2 separate regions of the Homo sapiens genome follow, and region 1 is linked to region 2. The links are contacts of gene promoters, found by promoter capture Hi-C in blood cells and fetal thymus (Javierre and others, 2016). All regions are on one chromosome and are shown on one strand. The core of a region is centred on a gene start or on the middle of the fragment in contact, and the rest is flanking DNA. Distances in the headings are between cores, read along the strand shown.

Region 1 (4,879 bases), core at 503-3,002, 340 kb before region 2:
GTCTTAGGGCATACAGATAGCTTTACAAAAGCCAATTGTTTCGTTTGAACATTTTTATAGGAGTCTTTTCTTTCCCCCATTCCTTTTAGAATGAAGGTGTGTTTAGTGTGCGTCAGTGATAAACTCCTCTTTTATGTGGATATTCTTTGTTAGATAACTTTTTTCTTTTAAAAATTTTTATTTGTATAATTTGTGAGGTACAAGTGTAATTTGTACATGCGTGTATTGCGTAGTGGTGAAGCCAGGGCTTTTTGTGTGTCCATCACTGGAATAACGTACATTGTCCTCCTTAGGTAATCTCTCATTATCCTTCTCTCAGCCTCCTAGATAACTATTTTGAGAAGGCTTTTATTTCAGAAAAGATTGCATTTGCTGTTTTAGGAATTCTGTTAGGGACTGGAGTTGCCTTAACTAGGGGTAACTAAATTCTAAGAGTCTTAAGCACGATGACTTTAAATTTACCAAAAACTTTTATATTTATCTCATTTTCATTAAGAAAAACCCAAAACATTGAGAGTCATAGAGGAAGGATTTCTTTCATTTTCTAGATGAGGAAACAGGTAGTTTTGTTTAGTGAAAGAACTTGGGTTTTGGAACTCTTGGCCTGCTCTAGAACAAAGATTGTTAGGTCGAGATTTCCTTTTAGAACAGAATGGGACTGTCTAGTATTAGTACTAAGAGAGTAATGAATTCTTTAAAAAACCAAGCAGGGAGGCATTAGGCTGGTTTGCACTTTTGAAAGACCGATGGTGAAACCGGGCTATGACTTTTTGGTTTTGGTACTTGAGCAGGGACTAGTGTCTAGGTTAGACTACTCCAGTACCCTGCTAAGGTTCTGATGGATTGGAATTCTTAACCTAGACTAGGCATTTCCAAATTAGGCTTTAAACAAATTACAAATTCCATTGTGTCTTCTTAGGCTGGCTTCAAAAACATGAATTTAGTTGTGAGAAGCAAATGCTACTTTATCAGAAGGTTTATTTATTCAACAGAGAGATAGTAGATTTGTTATTCATGTGTTTTTGAAGCATCACAGTGGGGGTTGGGAGAAGAGATAAAGCATTTGTAGCAGTAGACTGTTAGGCCGATGGCTTTGAAATTAGACCGTGGCTGTGGACAGGTGTGTCCTAATTGGTAACTGATTTATTTACTTTGTAGCTTTTTTTTTTTTTTTTTGAGATGGAGTCTCACTCTGTCGTCCAGGCTGGAGTGCAGTGCCTTGATCTCGGCTCACTGCAACCTCCGCCTCCTGGGTTCAAGCGATTCTTCTGCCTCAGTCTCCCGAGTAGCTGGGACTACAGGTGCGTGCCACCACACCTGGCTACTTTTTATATTTTTAGTAGAGACGGGGTTTCAGTATATTGGCCAGGCTGGTCTGGAATTCTGACCTGGAGATGCGCCTGCCTCCGCCTCCCAAAGTGCTGGGATTACAGGCGTAAGCCACCGTGTCCGGACACTTTGTAGCATTTTTTAAAAGCACCCACAGGCTGGCAAGTGTTCTATCTTAAGTACAGATGCAGTTTTTGGTTTTAAGGAACTTTAGTGTTTCATAGTAACATTTGAGGGATTCTTTGTTGGTCTTCCAGAGGAGTAGAGGATACAAATGAGACATATTGTTGAGTTACTCCTGCAAGGGGTTAGTAGAAAGAAGTAAGCTTGGGAACGATTAGGGTTTGAATCCTTTCTCTGCTACTTGCTAGTTGAATGGCCTTGGAAACATCCCATTTTCCTCCTGTACCTTAGTGTTTTCATTTGTAAAATAGAAATAATAATGGCTACCTTTCAATGCTTTTGTGATGAGACAATGTCTGCGATATATTCATTACACTATTACCGTGTTGAAGCTTCTGTTTGTTTGTTTGTTTTTGAGACAGGAACTCACTCTGTCGCCCAAGCGGGTGTGCAGCCTCCCGCTCCTGGGCTCAAATGATCCTCCCACCTCAGCCTCCCTAGTAGCTGGGACTATAGGCACATGCCACCATGCCTGGCTAATTATTTTTAGTAGAGATAGGTCTTGCTATGTTGCCCAGGCTGGTCTTGAACTCCTGGGCTCAAGCTGTCTGCCCACCTCAGCCTCCCAAAGTGCTGGGATTGTAGGTATGAGCCACCACACCCAACTGAGGCTTCTGGTTTGTATAGTGAGGCTTTCTTTTTTTTTTATAATTTAAAAAAATTATTTTATTTATTTATTTATTTTGAGACAGAGTCTCGCTCTGTCGCCCGGCTGGAGCACAGTGGTGCGACCTCTGCCTCCCTGGTTCAAGTGATTCTCCTGCCTCAGCCTCCCAAGTAGCTGGGATTACAGGCGCGTGCCACCAAGCCTGGCTAATTTCTGTGTTTTCAGTAGAGTCGGGGTTTCACCATGTTAGCCAGGATGGTCTTGATCTCCTGACCTCATGATCCACCCGCCTCGGCCTCCCAAAGTGCTGGGATTACAGGCATGAGCCACCGTGCCCAACCTCCATTGGCCTTCTTAGAGCCTTATTTTTTAATAAAATAATAGAGATGGGGGTCTCACTGTGTTGCCTAGGCTGGTCTTCAGCTCCTGGCTCAAGCGATTCTCCCTGCCTAAGTCTCCGAAGGTGCTGGGATGACAGGAGTGAGCCACTGTGCCCAGCCTGTAGTGAGGCTTTCTACACTAATATGAAGTGTTTAAATTTGGTTTGGTCTCATCCTGTTTATAGTAGTTGAAGTACTAATGGCATAATGTGATTACAGTTAATAGTTGTAAGTTACTGGTAAAAATATTAATGCTTTTAAAAATCAGTGACAACTGAGGAGAGGGCTTAGGCTAAAAGCATTCTGCTGCTGTTCTTGGTCAGAGGGTTTTATTGTTTCTTTAAGAAATATCCTATCAATATATTGGAGGTTTTATTTATTTATTTATTTATTATTTTTTTTTTTTTTACTGAAACAGAGTCTCGATTTGTCGCCCAGGCTGGAGTGCAGTGGTGCGATCTTGGCTCACTGCAACCTCTGCCTCCCGGGTTCAAACGATTCTCCTGCCTCAGCTTCCCAAGTAGTTGGGATTAAAAGTGTGTACCACCACACCCAGTTAATTTTTGTATTTCCAGTAGAGATGGGGTTTCATAATGTTGGCCAGGCTGGTCTCGAACTCCTGACCTCAAGTGATACACCTGCCTTGGCCTCCGAAGTGTTGGGATTATAGGCGTGAGCCACCTCGCCTGGCCAATATGTTGGACACTTTAAGGGATCCTTTCAAATTACACAATCTGAGCCATTGCTACTTATATATGGGTTTAGGCTTTTGTTTAGTTATTAGCATATGTCTGCTCCAGCTGTAAAGTTGTGATTGATTGATTGATTGATTTTTTGAGAGAGAGTCTCGCTCTGTCACCCAGGTTGGAGTACAGTGGCATGATCTCGGCTCACTGCAACCTTTGCCTTCTGGATTCAAGCCATTCTCCTGCCTCAGCCTCCCGAGTAGCTGGGATTACAGGTGCCCAGCACCATACCTGGCTAATTTTTATATTTTTAGTAGAGATGGGGTTTCACCATGTTGGCCAGGCTGGTCTTGAACTCCTGACGTCAGGTGATCCACCCACTTTGGCCTCCCAAAGTGCTGGGATTACAGGCATGAGCCACCACACCCGGCCGAAGTTGTGATAGTTTTAAAAAGGCTTTTGGGGCTGGGCGCGGTGGCTCACGCCTGTAATCCCAGCACTTCCGGAGGCCGAGGTGGGTAGATCACCTGAGGTCGGGAGTTCGAGACCAGCCTGGCCAACATGGTGAAACCCCGTCTTTACTAAAAATACAAAAAATTAGCCACCCGTGGTGGTGGGCGCCTGTAGTACCAGCTACTCAGGAGGCTGAGGCAGGAGAGTCGCTTGAGTCTAGGAGGCGGAGGCTGTAGTGAGCCGAGATCGCGTCATTGCACCCTAGCCTGGGCAACAGGGGCAAAACTCTTGTCTCAAAAAAAAAAAAGCTTTTGTTCATTTAAAAACTGTCAGTTGGTTTGAGGTATAAGTAAGTTGGGTAGACTGATAGAAGTCTAATTCTGTATTGCTATGTGTTGGTTAACAACATAAACTTCTCTGAAGTGGTAGTATTGAGTTCTGATCCCAATACCTTGCCAGAGTGCATGCCACCAACGACATTTATTTATTGTAAAAGACATGGGGTTCATGTTTTTATCTTAGTGTGTTTTATGTTTCAAAAGATGGAAATATTAAATATTTGTAACCTGTTTGTCCTTAGGTGTTGGTGGAATGAGCGTTGCATGTGTCTTGAAGAGAAAAGCAGTGCTTTGGCAGGACTCTTTCAGCCCCCACCTGAAACATCACCCTCAAGAACCAGCTAATCCCAACATGCCTGTTGTTTTGACATCTGGAACAGGGTCGCAAGCGCAGCCACAACCAGCTGCAAATCAGGCTCTTGCAGCTGGGACTCACTCCAGCCCTGTCCCAGGATCTATAGGAGTTGCAGGCCGTTCCCAGGACGACGCTATGGTGGACTACTTCTTTCAGAGGCAGCATGGTGAGCAGCTTGGGGGAGGAGGAAGTGGAGGAGGCGGCTATAATAATAGCAAACATCGATGGCCTACTGGGGATAACATTCATGCAGAACATCAGGTAAAAAAAAGTTCACTATTTTAGCTTTGACATTCCTTTATAATCACTGTCCACTTAGGATATCTGCTTTCAATGAATGTCTTTAAAAACTTAAATTGCTGATTTCATTTGGTACAAACAGTTACTTGTTATAAAGGTTGATCATTGTAATACTGTTACTGGGTCATTTATCATTCTGGTGCTAAATAGTAAATAGCCAATTCATTCATTCATTCATTCATTTGAGACAGAGTCTTGCTCTGTCACCCAGGCTGGAGTGTAGTCGCCTGATCTCGGCTTGATCTCGG
Region 2 (5,014 bases), core at 913-3,412:
GAGGACTGAGTTCAAAAGCATAAGGCTTCCCATCATGGCATTTGATAATTTTTAATTTCATAATTCTCCGAGGGCAGGGGCTCAGAAATGGAAGGGCTGTGCTGCCACCTGTGCTGTCAGTGAGGGCTCCAGGCAGAGGGCTGAGCGTTTCCCAGGACTTGTATCCTCACTGTCATGTTCAGGGCTCAGCACAGAACCTGAGGCTAAGCCAGGTGTCCTCTGTTCCTGTGGCACCCCCACAGGCTCCAGCACTTCCCCACTGCAGCCTTCGTTAGCCCGAGTCGCCACTTCCCTGCTCAGGGCCCCAGCTCAGGGGAGGTTCTTTCTTATCCCTCCTCCATACCCCACTCTCTAGCACACAGTGGATAAATGAACATGATTCTGCTCGGAGGTGGTATCCCCATTTTACAGATGGTGAAACTGAGGCATAAGAAGCTTAAGCAACTTGCTCAGCCAATAAGTGGGAAAAGCATTCACAGAGACAACAGCATATAATCCCAGCCATTACCACCCCTTAGAGAAATGACGTATCAGGCAGCCTGTCGGTCTTGGGGCCAACTACAAGTTTCAGCACGGGGTGCTGTAGATGAAGCTGATGGTTGAGGTGGTGGAGAGGGTGAAGGAGATGGGGGTGGTGGCGTGGGGTGGGCAAGTGAGGAGAGAGCTCCTCCAGCAGGTGACACAGCGGCGCTGGGGGAGCTGGCACCAGACTCCAGGTGTTCAGCCTGGAGTTCACCTGTGGGAGGACCCAGCAAGGTGGACAATCTGAAAGCTGGGTTGCAGGGAGGGGAGTAGGGACTCGAGGAGGCAGTGGGCCTCGGGATGGCAGCGAATAGTCACAGCTAGATTTTCAGAGCCAGGAGCCCAGGCCCCTGGAGAGGAAGAGATTGTACAAAGTCACTCCCCAGGTAGCCCAGGGTAATGATGGTAAAAATAATAGTTGCCCCTTCTGGCTTCTAACCAGGAGTCATCTCACTCAACCTCACCACAACCCTTTTTACAGTTGAAGACACTGAGGCTCAGGAAGGTGACCTGTAGCTTGTGGAGCTGCATTTCTAAACACGGCCTGTCTCAACTGCCTGTCATCAGGACAGGGTGTCAGGACCTGGGGCTAAGGATGGGACCCAGGAATCAGAAACAGACCCAAGTCAGAAGCAGAGAAGCAGCAAAGCGGGACTGGATGCCTAACCCAGACTGGGCAGAGCTGGGAGCGCCCTAGCCTCAGGGCGGGTGCAGACAGGGGGTCACGAAGCCGGATCTCAGTGACAGAGTCCGCCACCTCTTTCTTTCCAGGGTACAGACCAGAGGAGCCTAGTGGGAGGGGAGCAGGCAGATTCTTTCCCTCTCTGGCAGGGGCATGTATCATACCGGGGAGTGGAGGAGGATAAGGGCGGCATCTTTCTTGGGTTGGTCCCTTGGGCATCCACATGGGAGTGGCCCTCCGTCGGTTCCCTGGTCCAGGGTCCCCGGTCTTACCGGGACAAGGACAGCAAGACGGGAGACGGCAGCCCCATCCCTTAGCTTCGGCTGCCATCTGGTGGCCAAAGCGCAGAACTGCACCATGTGGAACCACCGGATCCCCCCACCCAGCCCCGGCCGGGCCTCCCGGGGGCACGAGGGGCGTGGCACGACTCCCACAGCCATCAGCCTGAGGACCCTGCCCTCAGCCGCCTCAGTCTGAGGGGAAGGCATGGCCCTGACCTTAGAGACCCCAATTTGGCGATGGGGCATCACATCCCTCCGGGCATCTCAGAGCTGCCTGCCCGAGGGAGGCGAAGCAGATGGAAAGCCCCCCAGCCACGTCTCTCAGTCAGAGGAAACGGGTCTCCTCTTCGGCCAGCCGGGTCCTCTTCCCCCGGGTGCCGCCTGGCTGTGCGACCCGGCAGTCCTCCCGCCTCTCCGGGCCTCAGCCTCCTCTCCTGGACAGTCCCGTGGGCTTCCGGGAGCCCGGTGTCACACCGCCCCGCGTGTCGCAGGTGGTCATCGTGGTGACAGACGGGAGGCCCCAGGACAGCGTGCAGGACGTGTCTGCGCGGGCCCGGGCCAGCGGCGTCGAGCTGTTCGCCATCGGAGTGGGCAGCGTGGACAAGGCCACGCTGCGGCAGATCGCCAGCGAGCCGCAGGACGAACACGTCGATTACGTGGAGAGCTACAGCGTCATCGAGAAGCTGTCCAGGAAGTTCCAGGAGGCCTTCTGCGGTGCGCGGGCAGGCGGGGGCGGAGCCAGGGCAGGGGCGGAGAAGGGGAGAGCGGCGGGGCGGGGCCAGGGCTGGAGGCGGGACCGAGGCTGAGGCGCAGACGGAGCCAGCGCCGGCGCAGGGCAGGGGCGGGGCCGGGGGGGGGGCAGAGGCGGAGACGGGAGAGAGATAGAATGTCAGTGCCGGGGCGGGGCCGGGGAGGAGCCGGGGGCGGAGGCGGAGACGGAGAGAGTCAGCGCCGGGGCGGGGCAAGGGTGGGGCCAGGGCAGGGGCGGAGACGGAGAGAGCGGCGGGGCGGGGCCAGAGCAGGCAGGGGGCGGGGCCAGGGCAGGGGCGAAGACGGAGACAGTCAGTGCCAGGGCGGGACCGGGGCGGAGGCGGAGAGAGTCGGCTCCAGGGGCAGGGCCAGGGCTGAGCGGGACGAGGCCGTGGCAGGCGCAGAGACTGAGAGTCCGCGCTGAGGCGGGCCAAGGCTAGGGGCGGAGCCAGCGCTAAAGTGAAGACAGAAAAAGTCAGCGTCGGGGGGCGGGGCCACATCAGAGGGCGGGGCCTGGCTGGGGCGGTAGCCTATAAAACGGCGGGAACTGAGTTACACGGCAACATCAGGGCGGGGCCAGGGCTAGGGACACGGCTTAGGTGGATTGGGGGTGGAACCTGGATTAGACTGAGGTGGTGCCAGCACCAGGGGTGGGGCCGTAGCTGGGGCGGAGCCTGATAACGGAGGAGGGTCTCCAGCCCCAGGTTAAGGGAGTTGGGGAGAGGCGATGTTAAGAGTCCTTTTATGGCCGGGCGCGGTGGCTCACGCCTGTAATCCCAGCACTTTGAGAGGCCGAGGCGGGCGGATCACGAAGTCAGGAGATCGAGACCATCCTGGCCAACATGGTGAAACCGGTCTCTACTAAAAATACAAAAAATTAGCCGGGCGTTGTTGCGGGCGCCTGTAGTCCCAGCTACTCGGGAGGCTGCGCCAGGAAAACGGCGTGAACCCGGGAAGCGGAGCTTGCAGTGAGCCGAGATCGTGCCACTGCACTCCAGCCTGGGCGACAGAGCGAGACGACTCCGTCTCAAAAAAAAAACAAAACAAAAAAAAAAACCGCACACACAAAAAACAACAGAGCCCTTTTATGTGGCAGAATCCTGGCAGGGACCAAGGAGGGCCCAGAGCTCAGGAAGGAGAGCTCCCAGAAAACCTACACATGTTTCTGTGTCGTGAGTTTTGGGTGCCAGAGTTTTCTGTGATGCGGGAGAGTCTGAGAGGCCTGGGCACTGGCAGGAGAAGGTTCAGAGCCCTTCTCGGAGGGGAGGTGTGTGTGTGGGTCTTTGGGATGTGACCCGCAGGGGCAGGGTGTCCAGTAGGACAGGATCAGGGTTAGGGCAGGGACTTTACCCATTTGTAAAATGGGTCTAAGAAGAGCATGCACGTTATTGAGAGGATCCAGTGAGATAATGCAAAATGTAACCCTCATTATATGGTATTTGACAGATAGGTGCTGTGTTCATTGTATGCTGTTCTAGACACTTGGGTGTCTTGATACAGCAGTGAACTAAACAGACTAAAGGCCCTAACCCTTGGCCTTTACCTTTTTAGTGAGACTTTTCATTCTTATCATCAGCATTATAACCTTCTTCAGGGATCTAGGCACTGGTGCAATGATTCCAGACGTGGGCTGAGAGTCGGGGGCCTGGGCCCCAGTATGTTGGAGATCTTAGTTTCCCTGAGTCTGGATGGGGCCTGGTATCCACAGTCAGGGAGGGACAACCTGTCTGTAGTGCCCAAGGCACTATGACTGTGAGATCTGAGCTACTTATTGTCCCCGCAGTGGTGTCAGACCTGTGCGCCACAGGGGACCATGACTGTGAGCAGGTGTGCATCAGCTCCCCCGGTTCCTACACCTGCGCCTGCCACGAGGGCTTCACTCTGAACAGCGACGGCAAGACCTGCAATGGTCAGTGGGGTGGACACAGGCTCGCCCTGGAGAGGGTGTGGAGGGGAGGTGATGGGGCCTCCCCAGGAAACCCATTCAAGCCTCCCTGCACCATACCTCTGAACCAATCTTCAAAGCAGACAGATGCCTTTTAGAGTTTGGTATCTGCAGAAGTTCTCACCTGACTTCTGTCCCTGTTTTCAACACAATGGGCGGTGGGTTTAGTGTGGTAGAAGGACTCACATAGTCTCAAAATCAAATCCTGGTGCTACCACTTCTGAGCTGTGTGATCTCACAGCTATTGGAGTTTCAGTTTCCAATACTGTACAGTGGGACCAGTCACCTTGGCTTTATAGAGGCAGTTCTGAGGGCACAATGTAATGATCCTCAGCACAGAGCTTGGTGTGTGGTGGGTGTCCAGCCGGGGAGCAGGATGGTTGACTATGTCCTTCAGCTTCAGCCCGTTGCCTTCCTGTCCTCCACAGTCTGCAGTGGTGGTGGTGGCAGCTCGGCCACTGACCTGGTCTTCCTCATTGACGGATCCAAGAGTGTGAGGCCAGAGAACTTTGAGCTGGTGAAGAAGTTCATCAGTCAGATCGTGGATACGCTGGACGTGTCAGACAAGCTGGCCCAGGTGGGGCTGGTGCAGTACTCAAGCTCTGTGCGCCAGGAGTTCCCCCTGGGTCGCTTCCACACCAAGAAGGACATCAAGGCGGCTGTGCGGAATATGTCCTACATGGAGAAGGGCACAATGACTGGGGCTGCTCTCAAGTACCTCATTGACAATTCCTTCACTGTGTCCAGTGGGGCTAGGCCCGGGGCCCAGAAGGTGGGCATTGTCTTCACTGATGGCCGGAGCCAGGACTACATTAATGATGCTGCCAAGAAGGC

Evidence for each region. The method cuts DNA at HindIII sites, captures the fragments that hold promoters and counts their contacts. A CHiCAGO score of 5 or more calls a contact.
Region 1: a contact is called between a fragment that was not itself captured here and the fragment with the promoter of MATN1-AS1 in region 2, in 6 of 17 cell types (total CD8 T cells, naive CD8 T cells, naive B cells and 3 more). The highest score is 6.6, in total CD8 T cells.

The regions. Positions count from the first base shown.
Region 1 is chr1:31,058,917-31,063,795 of GRCh38, reverse strand. PUM1 (pumilio RNA binding family member 1) reads left to right here. Exons shown (of 22, transcript NM_001020658.2): 2 at 4,219-4,592. The coding sequence starts at 4,230. Among named protein-coding and RNA genes, the nearest start is that of PUM1, 4.4 kb to the left of the region's middle. The HindIII fragment of the contact is 189 bases long and covers 1,658-1,846 here.
Region 2 is chr1:30,715,920-30,720,933 of GRCh38, reverse strand. It overlaps MATN1-AS1 (MATN1 antisense RNA 1), which reads right to left and starts at 2,162. Exons shown (of 4, transcript NR_034182.1): 1 at 1,369-2,162. MATN1 (matrilin 1) reads left to right here. Exons shown (of 8, transcript NM_002379.3): 3 at 1,977-2,199; 4 at 4,019-4,144; 5 at 4,609-5,014. RefSeq lists silencers at 1,550-1,639, 2,200-2,719, 2,760-2,939 and enhancers at 1,297-1,872, 1,970-2,139. The HindIII fragment of the contact is 4,958 bases long and covers 438-5,014 here.